4 separate regions of the Homo sapiens genome follow, and all the other regions are linked to region 1. Evidence: promoter capture Hi-C in human tissues and cell types (Jung and others, 2019). All regions are on one chromosome and are shown on one strand. Each heading gives the region's core, a stretch centred on a gene start or on the middle of the fragment in contact. The rest is flanking DNA. Distances are from core to core; before and after follow the strand shown. Region 1 holds the start of PKP3 (plakophilin 3). Region 2 overlaps RIC8A (RIC8 guanine nucleotide exchange factor A). Region 3 holds the start of RASSF7 (Ras association domain family member 7). Region 4 overlaps PSMD13 (proteasome 26S subunit, non-ATPase 13).

Region 1 (3,316 bases), core at 286-2,785:
GCTGGGAGGCTGGCGGGATCCGGACCACGAGCCGGGTAGGTCTCCCACCCCTTCCCCACCACCCCGACCCCACCTGGTGGCCCCAGCCCGGGCCTCACCCATCCTTTCAGTGGACCTTCCCCTCCCCCTTTAACCCCCCACGCTGACCTCCGACTCCTACTCTCCAGCTTCCTCCCCTCAGAACTGACCTCACCCTTAATGCTGCCTCCTAACCCTGACCCGGCCCTCACGCCAGACCCCTGCCCCAGCCCCATTAAGGCAAAAATCTTCCAGGGACGGAGCTAGGGGGCAAGGGTCTGCCCTGGAGGAGAGCCCAGAGCCAGGGTCCAGGGTCCAGGGAGAAGCAGAGGCTGTCCGATGAGCTCGTGAGAGAAGCCCAGAGGTTGTCATAGATGTTCAGCTCCCACCCCCAGCCCTCCTAGGCTTATCCCCACCCCCATCTACCAGGGGCTTGTCCCAGAGGCTAGAGGGCCTCAGAGCCCATTTGCTGGCTGTGGTGCTAGAAGGAGACCTTCTGGGCACAAGCCCTGCTTGGTCCAGGGCCCCCCCACCAGGGGCCCCCCACTACCCCACCCCCACCAGGGGCCCCCCACCCTCGCTCCCTCTCCATCCAGGCCTCTGCTCTTCCAGACCCCTGGTTCTTCCCTGCACACCCGCTCCTGCCCCAGCCTGACATGCGCTGACAGGAGTGCAGGCCCTCTGAGTCAACCCCCTGGGGCGGCCCCGCCCCCCTGCACCCTGACTCATGTGCTGGGAACGGCCTCCCACCCCAGGGCCTGGGGTGCAGGAGCAGTGGTGCCAGGGTCCCAGAAGCCAGAGAGGGTTTTGGAGGCCTCTGTAGGGGGTGAGGGGGTCCTGGGGGTGAGTTCCAGGGTCTGCAGGCTTCGGGGGAGGGCCGGTCCATCCACATGCTTCCTGGTGCGGAGGGGGCTCGCTGGATTCCAAGGACCAGGGCCAGGGCCTCCATGGAGTCCCGTTGGACCCTAAAGCTCTGTCCCTCCAGCCTTTGTCCTGATCCCTGGCACTGACCCCTGACTCCCGACAGTGTCTCCTGCCAACCCTTCCTAGGCCTCATCCCCACCTCACCAGGAAGGCTGGGCTACCATGGAGGCTGGCTGATTCTTGGAGCTACCTAGGGCCCTAGACCCCCAGGGACTGGGGCACCCTCCCCTTCATGCTGGGGGTGGCAGGACATAGGCCCCCCGCAGGCCCCCTGCCCTTCCCTGACACTCAGGACACAGAGGGCCCCTCTGTCCCAGCCCCACGACAAAGGGCCCGGTCTGGCCTTTACAGGCTGAGAACAAGAAGGACCCAGGTCCCCGTGGCCCTGTTGTGGGATGGGAGAAAAGGAGGCGGGAGGCCAGGCTGGGACCTGGGGCCATGCAGGGCCTGTTCTTCCGCCCAAATTCCACCTTAAGCAGGCGGCGGCCCCTCCCTCCCACCTGGCCAGGTGTCCCCGCCCCCAGCTGCGCTCAGGGCTGGGCAGGCGTCTGTCTTCAGGCGGCTCTGGGTGAGGCTGGCTGGGCGGGGACTTCAGGGAGAGGGCCTCGAGGGACAGGACGTGAAGATAGTTGGGTTTGGAGGCGGCCGCCAGGCCCAGGCCCGGTGGACCTGCCGCCATGCAGGACGGTAACTTCCTGCTGTCGGCCCTGCAGCCTGAGGCCGGCGTGTGCTCCCTGGCGCTGCCCTCTGACCTGCAGCTGGACCGCCGGGGCGCCGAGGGGCCGGAGGCCGAGCGGCTGCGGGCAGCCCGCGTCCAGGAGCAGGTCCGCGCCCGCCTCTTGCAGCTGGGACAGCAGCCGCGGCACAACGGGGCCGCTGAGCCCGAGCCTGAGGCCGAGACTGCCAGAGGTAGGCGGTGGGGACAGCGGCGGGGATGGCGGTGGCGGGGAGAGGTGGCTGCGGGCGGACGTGATAGTGTGAGGGCAGAGGCCGCAGTGAGGCCGGCTCCTGACTCACCAGGCCTCACACTGAGTCACACACCCCGCCCCAGGGGCGTGGGGAGAAGCCATGGGTGGGGCTGCCCTGTCCAAGCAGGGACCCCGGGGTCCTCCAAAGACTGAGCCTGGCCAGGCCCCACCTGTGCCTGGAGTCCTGGAGCCATCCCTGTGGGGGATGACAGGGAAGGTTGGCACATGGCAGGCGGGCCAGGCCACTCGGTCGGCAAACCCGGAACACGCACGCGCCTGGCCCCGGTAGCACAGACTCACATAGGGTCTCAGGGACACCCAGACACCCACGCTCCTCCCATACCTCACGGGAATGAGCAGAACGGGAAAGCGGGGAGAGGTGTGGGGGTGCTGGAAGTCCTGGAGGAAAGCCAGGCCTGTCTGGACCAGGGGCTCCCTGAGGAATTAGAGGGGAGGGCCCGGCTGGAGTGACCTAGATTTCTCTGTGGGAACAGCAGGTGGAGGAGCACCCCTCGGTGCCAGCCAGACCCACCTGTGGCGGAATCCTGGCCCCACTCACGCGAGTGTGTGTGCATGCGTGTGAGTGTGAGTGACAGGAGCACAGACGCTGTGAGTTGAAGGCAGTGGTTCTAGGAACGCCATTTCCTCCTTCCCAGGCTACAGCAACAGGGATTAAGGTTAGACAGTAAGATGGACCTCCCAGAATGCCAGGGACCCAGATGCCAGTTCATCATGGTCCACTTGGTGTTTAGAGGGGCCTTCCCCAGGACTGGCCTCCAGCCACTGGCCAGGGGGAAGTGAAGGTCGCCCAGCGGAGGGGCCGGCCCGGCGGCCTGGACTGTGGGGTCCTCCCTCCAGGGGCCTCAGCCTTGCTGGTGACCAAGTCGGGTGCCCAGGGGTCATGGGGTGGAGGACGGTGAGGGAAGGGTTAATTACCACCCTGGCTGCCCTGCCAATTAGAGGGAGGTGGATTATAATTGGGGGGTGGGGGTGAGGTCCCCAGGCTGGGGCGTGCCCCCACTCCGGGCTGGGCCTCACGAGCGTCAGAGGGTTAATAGCCCCGGCCCAGAAGCCCCATTAACCAGGGTGAACCTGGGGCCTCTGCCATGGGGGTGTCCCCCACAGAGCATCCAGCTCTGGGCAGAGTTGTGGGAGGGCCACGGCCCCTTTCCCTGCACCCCACCCTGAGCCCCTCAGCCAGGTCGCTCTGGTGGGCCTTCTCATGCCCCCACCATCAGCCCATCCTCTCTGCACCCATCCACGAGTCCATCCCTCTGCCCACTCACCATCCAACCATGGGACCCTGTCGTCGACGGCTGTCCCACCCCTCCATCCACCACTCTGTCCATCCTTCCAGCAGTCACAGCAGCCCTCCCATCCTCCTCCTGCCTGTCCCTCCATCCACC
Region 2 (3,316 bases), core at 259-2,758, 180 kb before region 1:
CTGGGAGAAGGGAGAGCTGACCCACATCCTGTCTTGTGAGCCCCAGGAGGTAGGATCAGAGGAGAGCTTAGGATCCTGGTATTAGGTTGCATTGCTCACGTTTGAAATCACTTGCCCTGGAGGAAATCCCCCAGGGGATGGGTATATTGAGATCAGTATTGTGCCCCTTTTACAGATGATAACTGAGGCCCAGAGAAATTAAGAGACTGTCTAAGGCCGGGCGTGGTAGCTCACGCCTATAATCCCAGCACTTTGGGAGACTGAGGCAGGTAGATCACAAGGTCAGGAGATCGAGACCATCCTGGCCAACATGGTGAAACCCCATCTCTGCTAAAATACAAAAAAAAAGTTAGCTGGGCGTGGTGGTGGGCGCCTGTAGTCCCAGCTGCTCGGGAGGTTGAGGCAGGGGAATCACTTGAACCCAGGAGGCAGAGCTTGCAGTGAGCTGACATTGTGCCACCGCACTCCAGCCTGGCAACAGAGTGAGACTTCGTCTCAAAAAAAAAAAAGAGACTAATGTCGCCAGATTTATTGGAGATGGCCCAGTGTCCAAATTAAGAGCCTGCTTAAGGCCAATTTAGATGTTTAAAATAGGAAACTGCTTAAAGCCAGGAGGCAGCAGTTAGGGTTTGGGCCCAGTTAACAGAAGGTCCAACCAGGCTTCCCCAGTAAATGGGAGCAGCCTACTTGGTAGAGAGGAAGGTAGCAGCCACGGGTGAGTAGGACCCCTGCCTGGCCAACTGGGCCCCTTCCCCAGCCCCACTGCACCTTTCCCCAACAGGAACAGAGTCATCCAGCCAATGGGGATGAGTCCCCGGGGTCATCTTACGTCCCTGCAGGATGCCATGTGCGAGACTATGGAGCAGCAGCTCTCCTCGGACCCTGACTCGGACCCTGACTGAGGATGGCAGCTCTTCTGCTCCCCCATCAGGACTGGTGCTGCTTCCAGAGACTTCCTTGGGGTTGCAACCTGGGGAAGCCACATCCCACTGGATCCACACCCGCCCCCACTTCTCCATCTTAGAAACCCCTTCTCTTGACTCCCGTTCTGTTCATGATTTGCCTCTGGTCCAGTTTCTCATCTCTGGACTGCAACGGTCTTCTTGTGCTAGAACTCAGGCTCAGCCTCGAATTCCACAGACGAAGTACTTTCTTTTGTCTGCGCCAAGAGGAATGTGTTCAGAAGCTGCTGCCTGAGGGCAGGGCCTACCTGGGCACACAGAAGAGCATATGGGAGGGCAGGGGTTTGGGTGTGGGTGCACACAAAGCAAGCACCATCTGGGATTGGCACACTGGCAGAGCCAGTGTGTTGGGGTATGTGCTGCACTTCCCAGGGAGAAAACCTGTCAGAACTTTCCATACGAGTATATCAGAACACACCCTTCCAAGGTATGTATGCTCTGTTGTTCCTGTCCTGTCTTCACTGAGCGCAGGGCTGGAGGCCTCTTAGACATTCTCCTTGGTCCTCGTTCAGCTGCCCACTGTAGTATCCACAGTGCCCGAGTTCTCGCTGGTTTTGGCAATTAAACCTCCTTCCTACTGGTTTAGACTACACTTACAACAAGGAAAATGCCCCTCGTGTGACCATAGATTGAGATTTATACCACATACCACACATAGCCACAGAAACATCATCTTGAAATAAAGAAGAGTTTTGGACAAAAATGTATGTGTAAATTATCAAATAAAGGGGCCAGGCACAGTGGCTCATGCCTGTAATCCCAGCACTTTGGGAGGCCGAGGTGGGTGGATCACTTGAAGCCAGGAGTTCGAGACCAGCCTGGCCAACATAGCAAAACCTTGTCTCTATTACAAATATGCCCATGTGCTAGGTGTGGTGGGACACACCTGTAATCCCAGCTACCCAGGAGAATCGCTTAAACCCGGGAGGCGGAAGTTGCAGTGAGCTGAGATCATAACACCGCACTCCACCCTGAGTGACAGGGCAAGACTCAAAAAATAAAAAAGGAACATTAACTAGGGTTAGAAACTAACTTCATTCTTTTTAGAATTCAACAGTTTTCCTAGGTCACCAATTCCACCTTTTGTTCTTATTAAGGCGCAAAGTCACAGGACCCCCTTCCTGGGAGTCACTGTCATTAAATCTATTGCCGTCAGCTCAGCCCAGGGTAGGCAAGGTTCAAGAATGGGAAGTGCTTTTGTCTGGGGAAACACGCAGGTAATGTGATGCTAGGAAGGAGGATGTGCAGGTGGGTGAGAGCCCAGGAGGGAGCAGCTGGTGCCTGACAGGGTGAGCCATCAGGGCTGGGCCTGGGTACAGCCCCAGGAGAAGGAGCCTGTGCAGAAGTAGCAGTTCAGTGGATTCCACCTCCTATGTCACAATCCAGCAGGTGGCCAGGACTCAGCCTGGGTTTTAAGTGAGTAATGCCTTCCCTGTCTCAGAGATTAGCTCTAACAGTGTCACTAGAGGAAGCCCTGGCGAGGGTGGGGGGGCGTAGTGTGGGGACAAGGAGGCCAGATAGAAAGTGCTGGAATGTTCTGGAACAGATCTGTTTCTGGAGGAGAGGCTGAGTATGGAGAGTCAACAGAATGTGACCACCTTCAGAGGGAGGAGCTGGGCCGTCTCCAATAAATCCAGGGACAAATGCCTTCAGTCCTCAGACTGTTCCAATAGAGGGGACGCCACGTATCCCAGGGTTCCCTTTCCAACTCATGTCAACACCTGCAGTCCCTTTGAGGAGACTAAATGTATTTCATGCTGGAAAGAACAGATTTTCTCTCATTAAAAATAGCCCCACTAAAGGAGACCAACATGCTAGAAGTGCGGCACCAGGGCCTCAAGACTACACTTCGGAACATGAAGAGGGCTGGGGACCGCTCGGCCCAAGTCTGGATCTTGTAACCAACAGATGCCGAGCTTGCCGTTCAACTAGGCACAGAAAGCAGACTCGGTCTGGGATTCCAGTTGGTCTGATTCAGTTCAAGAGGGTCACAGTCAGAAGAAAGCTTTTTCCATTAGGAGCTTCAGCAGAGTGAAGAGTTCAACACAGCAAACAGGCAGGCAGCTCCTTTGTATATGTGACGGGGTGGCCCTGACTGTAAACACAGCCCTACCAGTCACTGCAGCTCATGGCCTGAGAAGACATTCCAGTGGCAGCCTCGGGTGTCCACTCAGTTCACATATTCTGGTTTCACCTGCCCAAGCTGTCTTCAGGCATGAGGTCTTGTCAGAATTGGGATGTGGATGTCTCCTATGTTACCATTTATTGTGTGGGGGCAGCCATCATCCTATTTGTCTGGTCCATCAAGCTGGAATACAGAAGACAGAGGGTATCAGCTATCTGTTTACACACCC
Region 3 (3,078 bases), core at 579-3,078, 170 kb after region 1:
ACTCACAGAGCGTTGCTCTCTGAAGGGACCCACATGTGGGTGTCCACACCCGTGTGTTTCTGACCAGGCTGGCGCAGCAGGTCACCACCCGACATGTCCCTGGCGTGTACCCCTGCCACCCAGGTGCTGGCCCTTTGCCTGTGATGTGGTGTCCCTCTTTCTCTCTCTTGTCCCCCCAGCTCAGGGCCCTACCCCCAGCACTCACCTGAGGCCCGACCTCCAAGCAGGCCTGGGAGGGAAGGGCTGTATACCGTTGCCATGGATACCAGCACCCAGAAGGGGTGGGGCTGTTTGTTACCAGGAGCCTCCAGGGAGACCCCAGACCAGGCCCCTAGGTGAGTTCTGGGCCAGCCCAGCCTGGAGGAGGTGTGAGAGGCTGAGCCACTGCTCAGCTTAGCGGGGGGACCACTTAGTGACCAACACCCTGAGGGAGGCCCCAGCATCCCCTACCTAGCCTGGCAGCAGCAGCGGGATAAATAGGGGGGCACTGCTGCCTGTGAGCCAGCCCAGCATAGCCATGGGTGTGTGGGGGAAGCAGACAGGTAACAGTGACAAGCTGGGGACTGTGCTGAACGCTAACTGGCAATAGTACACTCCTGCCCACAGCCTGTTTTTAAATTAATAATTAATTCTTTAGAGACAGGGTCTTGCTCCGCTGTCCAGGCTGGAATGCTTCGGTGTGATGACAGCGCACGTTAACCTCGAATTCCTGGGCTCAGGTGATCCTCCCACTTCCGCCTCCTGACTTGCTGAAACTACAGGCACCCGCCTCCACCGCCAGGCCCAGCCCACAGCTCCTTTGACCTCAGTGACAGGCACTCACCTACCTGACCCCCAAACTGAAGCCTCACTTTTCCCAGCCGTGTCCACACCCTCTGGGCTACCCCATTACCATGACAAGTATTCCCTCTGCTCCAGGAGAAAAGCCAGGTCCCAGACCTGACCCATTAAAACCCAATCATTCCAGCTTTCACCCTTCATCTCTGCAACTTTCGGCTATGTAAGGGCTCCCTGGGGGAGCACAGGAGACAGGCGGGCAGGAGGCCCACGCCCACAACTCTTTCTGAGCTGGGCAGAACAATCAATGGCCCACACAGCTGACCGCGAGGCTGCGGGGCCCTGGGCGGGACAGTAGGGTAGGGGGTGAAGGAGCGGCTTCCAGCCAGCTTCACTGTGTGCATGGCCTGGCACTGGGTCCAAAAGGGGCAGGAAGGTGTCGGAGAAGAGCCTCAGCTAGAGTCCGGGCCTTCTGAGCGGGCACCTCCCGCACCAGGACTCTGCGCCCGCCAGCTCCGCAGGGCTCCACCTCCCTCGCCGGGACTGGTGACCCTGCGACCCCGCGACCCCTGCGCGTCCAGACTACTGCAGCTGCGGTAGGCCCCAAAGGCTGGCCCGGGAAGCGAGGGGAGGGGCTGGCCCCGCTGCCCCTGGACGCAGGCGGGGGTTGCGGGATCTCAAGCCAGAGACCCTTCCTGGGCGGGAACCCGCCACACTAGAAGGCTGCTGAGGAAGTCGGCCCAGGAGCGGGGCCAGACACCTACCCCGACGCCTGCCCGCGGGCCGCAGCCACCGCATTTCCGCGTTTTTCGCGGTAGGCGGGAGGTGGGGGCGGGGACTGCGGCTCGGCGCCCCCCTCCGACCCGCCCACACCTGTAGTCTCGGGGGGGGCGGGGCGCGGCGACGAGCCAATGGGTCGGGGAGGGGCGTGACAGAGGCAGCCAATGGGCGCGGGGAGGGGGCGGAACGCCCGCGCTGAGCAGCCAATAGGGGTGCTAGGGGCGGGGCGTGCGGACCGCGGGCCAATGGGGGCGCGGGGCCCGGGTGCGCCGCGGCGCTGGGGGCGGCAGGTTGCGGCGGCGCCGGAGCGGGTCTCCAGGCTGGCGAGCGCCCAGGTGAGCCGCGCCGGGTCCCCGGTACTTGGGAGCGCGGGGCGCGCCTCGAGCCGGCCGGACGCCGACTCCAACTGGGGAGAGTTTTCCGCGATGCCCGGACGGAGAGCGGGGGCGGCGCCGCACCTGCGCCCGCCCTGCGGAACGGGGACGCCCTGGCTCCCGCCAGGCTGGGGTCGCGGCGCGGGCTTCGGTGCCCGCGGCGGGGACCGGGACTTTCGGGGCGAGCGCAGCGATTAGGCGGCAGCGGCGGGGCTCCCCGGGCTGGCGGGGGCTGCTCAGACCCGGAGTCTGCTCCATCTGCAGGGTCGAGGTCTGGGTTGCGACCCCGAGCGCCTCTGCGGCCTGAGCAGGTCGGGGTGGGGCGTTCCCATGCCGGCGGCCGCGGGGCCTGGCGTGCGGGCGCCTCCGCGCCGCCCGGGGAGGGGGCAGTGTCCTCCGAGCCAGGTGAGGCGAGTAGGAAATGCTGGATCTGGTTAATGATTCGCCTTGTTCCGGGAGTGCGAGCGTGGCAAGAGGAAGCTGGTGAAGTGGGGGAGGATGCGTGCTCCGGAGGGCCGCCACCCCAGGAATGTGTGGCTGGCGGGTGGGGCTGGCACAGGAGGGTGGGGCCCGTGCGGAGGGGCGGCAGCCCAGCCGTTTCTAGGGCAGGCCAAGAGGATGAGGAGAGGAGGACCAGCCTGCGATAGGAGTAGGCAGGTCCTGACCCGGTGCCTGCGCCCTCCCCACAGGACAGGCATGTTGTTGGGACTGGCGGCCATGGAGCTGAAGGTGTGGGTGGATGGCATCCAGCGTGTGGTCTGTGGGGTCTCAGAGCAGACCACCTGCCAGGAAGTGGTCATCGCACTAGCCCAAGCAATAGGTGAGTCCTCTCGGGGTCAGGCAGGCCGGGCAGGTAGAGCTGAAGTGGGACCTGGTGGTCCAGCTCCATGGTCTCCCCCAAGGAGAGTGGGGCTGGTTGCTGATCCTTTTTGTTCTTCCCAACTCTTCAAGCCAGGTGGACAGAGAGTCGGGGGGACATAGGCTGACCTTCTCCTCTTCTTCCCAGGCCAGACTGGCCGCTTTGTGCTTGTGCAGCGGCTTCGGGAGAAGGAGCGGCAGTTGCTGCCACAAGAGTGTCCAGTGGGCGCCCAGGCCACCTGCGGACAGTTTGCCAGCGATGTCCAGTTTGTCCTGAGGCGCACAGGGC
Region 4 (3,316 bases), core at 280-2,779, 140 kb before region 1:
TCTCTATTTTCAGAGCCAATATTGACAAAACATCCTTATCAGTTCTCTATTTTTATTTGGAAAAATAGTTTAAAATAGTTAATAAAATTTTTTCCAGATGACTTTCACACGACCTGCCAATCACAGACAACTCACTTTTGAAGAAATTGCCAAAAGTGCTAAAATCACAGTGAATGAGGTACGGTCCCTAGGCTCAGGGTGTTAGAGCAGCAAAGCTGCCACATGGAGGAGTCAAGGCTCTTGTGTGAGCGCTGTGCTCCCTAGACAGTAAAAAATGACGGGAGGAGCGGCATCTGCTTCTCACAAGCCATCTGGGTCCATGGGGGTGTGTCAGGCTATCTTGTCTTACACACGCCTCCCTCTCTGCACAGGTGGAGCTTCTGGTGATGAAGGCCCTTTCGGTGGGGCTGGTGAAAGGCAGTATAGACGAGGTGGACAAACGAGTCCACATGACCTGGGTGCAGCCCCGAGTGTTGGATTTGCAACAGGTGATGTGTTTGAAACCCATTATTCACCTCTGTGGATTTTGAGGGGTTGTGTCTATACCGTCTTAGTTTCATTTGGATGGAAGCCATTTGGGAAGACAGCATTATTAGACAAGAGGTTTTGGAGAAGGAAATACTGCTGTTGGGTTTTTCTAAGAGCCTAATTTAATGCAAGCCTAGGGTTTGAACCCTGCATTTAAAAGCTTATGATGACAATGGCACTGGTTGTGCTGACGGTGCCTTTTAATCTTAAGATAGGAGCTCTGATCAGATACGTTCCTGGTTCTGTGATTTGAGCTCACGTCGCTCTTACATTTGCTGGAAATGCGATCCTGTGGATTTCCTCTGTCCTTGTCTGCTTTCTTTCATGCAAGTTTTTTCTAACGTTCCTGTGAAAAGAATTAACCCGGCAAGTCCCGTCCCACTCCCCCAGCTCAGAGGTCCTTTTTACTAGAGCTGCCCTAGAGAGTTAGCTGGAGATGTAGAGTCACCCCATCAGGTGCTGTGCCGGCCGCTCGGCCTGTGTCTCCTGCGTGTCTTAACGTCCCTTGTGTCCGGATTTCCATTTCAGATCAAGGGAATGAAGGACCGCCTGGAGTTCTGGTGCACGGATGTGAAGAGCATGGAGATGCTGGTGGAGCACCAGGCCCATGACATCCTCACCTAGGGCCCCCTGGTTCCCCGTCGTGTCTCCTTTGACTCACCTGAGAGAGGCGTTTGCAGCCAATGAAGCTGGCTGCTCAGACGGTCGACATTGAATTTGGGTGGGGGTTGGGATCCTGTCTGAAGTACAGACTGTTCTTGCTCTAAAAACAGGACTGTCCCTGATGGGAGCCAGGCCACAGGGAGGAGGCTTCTTTGTGGGTCTCTCCTGCAGAGGGTGGGGGTCTCAGGGTCTTAGGTGATACGGGAGAGAAAGAACGTGCCAGGCAGGAGGCCCCCTGAAGTCTGTGTACTCCGAGGTGGATCTCCATCCCCATCCACCTGTACGGACATCTTTTCCGTTGCGGTTTGAGAATGTTCCTATAATAAACCCCTCTGCTTTGTTCTTCTTGTGGCTCTGTTTTCTTGGGCTTAGCTTCCAGGCCAAGCCTGTGCCTGGAGGTTAAAAAGCATGAGTTGGAACCTTGGGAAGACACGGTGGGGGTAGCCTTGGCCCTTCTCCTCCCTGCACATACAGTAGACGGGCAGAATCCAGCACCAAGGACTAACGAAGACGCTGGTCCTATCTTTATTGTTAGTCAAGAGAGACCTAGGGGTATCCACTCCCTTCTCCAGCCCTCTCAGGTACCTGCCCCGACACAGGCATCCATCCACATCCTTGTCACCACTCATCATTCAAATAGCCACCAGCATCTGTGACCTGGTGTGCCCCAGTGCGGACATGAGCCATCCCTGGGACTGGGCATGTAAAGGAAACCACCTTGAGGTTCCCCGTCTGGGAGTGGAGGTGCACGTACACAAAGAATCACAGAGTGAACATTAGGTGGAAGGACAGTTTAATGTGATCTTTCAGTCCTGGGCCTGCAGTGACAGCATGGAGCTCTTGCAGCTCTCCAGGTCGGGTGAGACCCAGCCTCCAGGAACCAGGAAGCTGATGAATGTGAGAGCCCCACGGCCTGCTCCTGTTGGAGGAAAGCACCCACAAGTCTGCTAGGCTGGCAAAGAACAGTTGTCCGGCATCTTCTCCAGCCTTTTCCTCTTTGGTTGCTGGTGTCTGAGCTCCTGGTTTTTTCCACCTCGTCCAGGCCTCGCCTGACCTCATGGCCCCAGACCCCTCTCGGTCTTTCCACCCACCCTCTCCAGACCTCGTTTGGCCCTGGTCCAGATGGCCTGACACCCCAGCTGTTCCTCGTCAGTCACAATTGCTGGGATCTATTGACCACTAGCCTTTATACCCACCTCACTGTCAAGTTCCCAAGGCCCTGTGGTGCACCCTTCAACCTTCCGCAGCCCCTCTCAGCTGCTCAGGCCAAATGTCTTAGTGTGAGCCTCCATTTCCCTCAGACACTCATGTGTACATCGAGCCCGCTGACTCCCCACCCTCCCTAAGTCCAGCCTCAAACCTGTCCTCCATAACCGCTCCTCCACACAGCAGCCCAGACAGTCTTCCAGAACAATCAGGTCTTGTTGCTGCCGCTGCTCAGCATCCTCCAACAGGCTTCACTCACCCCCAAGGCCTGAGTGCTCTGACCACTGCCTGCCTTGCTGGTCCTGCTCCTACCCTCATCTGCTCTCCCTGCACCCCACCAAGGCTCCTGCCTCATCCCAGACATGAGCTGATCACAGCCCAGAGAGACACAATTCTGCATGCTGAAATCCCGAAAAATCAAAATTCTGAAAATATATTTCTGGAAAAAATAATTTTAAAATTATTTAAAAGATATTTATTTACTTTTTTTTCATTTTTTTATTTTTGAGACGGAGTTTCACTCTTGTTGCCCAGGCTGGAGTGCAATGGCACCATCTCCGCTCACTGCAACCTCTACCTCCTGGGTTCAAACAATTCTGCCTCAGCCCTCTGAGTAGCTGGGATTACAGGCGCCTGCCACCACACCTGGCTAATTTTGTATTTTTAGTAGAGATGGGGTTTCTCCATGTTGGTCAGGCTGGTCTCAAACTCCTGACCTCAGGTGATCCGCCCGCCTCAGCCTCCCAAAGTGCTGGGGTTACAGGCATGAGCCACCACGCCTGGCCATCTATTTACATTTTTAAAGGGGATTTATTTGAGAAACATAAAAACATGACATATGACAGAACACATCATAGGCCACTTCACACAATAAAATAGACAATAATAATATCCATGTTTCTGCAAGTGTAAACAGTCA

The links. The method cuts DNA at HindIII sites, captures the fragments that hold promoters and counts their contacts. A contact is called where the count stands out against the background at its distance.
Region 2: a fragment that was not itself captured here is called in contact with the fragment with the promoter of PKP3 in region 1 in 9 of the 25 tissues and cell types used here (H1 embryonic stem cells, aorta, bladder and 6 more).
Region 3: a contact is called between the fragment with the promoter of RASSF7 here and the fragment with the promoter of PKP3 in region 1, in 1 of the 25 tissues and cell types used here (pancreas).
Region 4: a fragment that was not itself captured here is called in contact with the fragment with the promoter of PKP3 in region 1 in 4 of the 25 tissues and cell types used here (H1 embryonic stem cells, adrenal gland, aorta and 1 more).

The regions. Positions count from the first base shown.
Region 1 is chr11:392,674-395,989 of GRCh38, forward strand. It overlaps PKP3 (plakophilin 3), which reads left to right and starts at 1,536. Exons shown (of 13, transcript NM_007183.4): 1 at 1,536-1,851. The coding sequence starts at 1,620. RefSeq lists an enhancer at 989-1,751. The HindIII fragment of the contact is 50,700 bases long and covers 1-3,316 here.
Region 2 is chr11:213,449-216,764 of GRCh38, forward strand. RIC8A (RIC8 guanine nucleotide exchange factor A) reads left to right here. Exons shown (of 10, transcript NM_001286134.2): 10 at 782-1,665. The coding sequence ends at 902. SIRT3 (sirtuin 3) reads right to left here. Exons shown (of 7, transcript NM_012239.6): 7 at 1,582-3,270. The coding sequence ends at 3,250. Among named protein-coding and RNA genes, the nearest start is that of MIR6743, 5.8 kb to the left of the region's middle. The HindIII fragment of the contact is 6,100 bases long and covers 1-3,316 here.
Region 3 is chr11:559,142-562,219 of GRCh38, forward strand. It overlaps RASSF7 (Ras association domain family member 7), which reads left to right and starts at 1,829. Exons shown (of 6, transcript NM_003475.4): 1 at 1,829-2,336; 2 at 2,621-2,751; 3 at 2,938-3,078. The coding sequence starts at 2,628. LMNTD2 (lamin tail domain containing 2) reads right to left here and starts at 1,597. Exons shown (of 14, transcript NM_173573.3): 1 at 1,542-1,597. The coding sequence starts at 1,575. LMNTD2-AS1 (LMNTD2 antisense RNA 1) reads left to right here and starts at 121. Exons shown (of 2, transcript NR_147607.1): 1 at 121-335; 2 at 638-965. RefSeq lists an enhancer at 2,632-3,078. The HindIII fragment of the contact is 35,948 bases long and covers 1-3,078 here.
Region 4 is chr11:251,449-254,764 of GRCh38, forward strand. PSMD13 (proteasome 26S subunit, non-ATPase 13) reads left to right here. Exons shown (of 13, transcript NM_002817.4): 11 at 98-178; 12 at 372-488; 13 at 1,057-1,536. The coding sequence ends at 1,152. It also overlaps the pseudogene COX8BP. Among named protein-coding and RNA genes, the nearest start is that of PSMD13, 16 kb to the left of the region's middle. The HindIII fragment of the contact is 4,358 bases long and covers 1-3,316 here.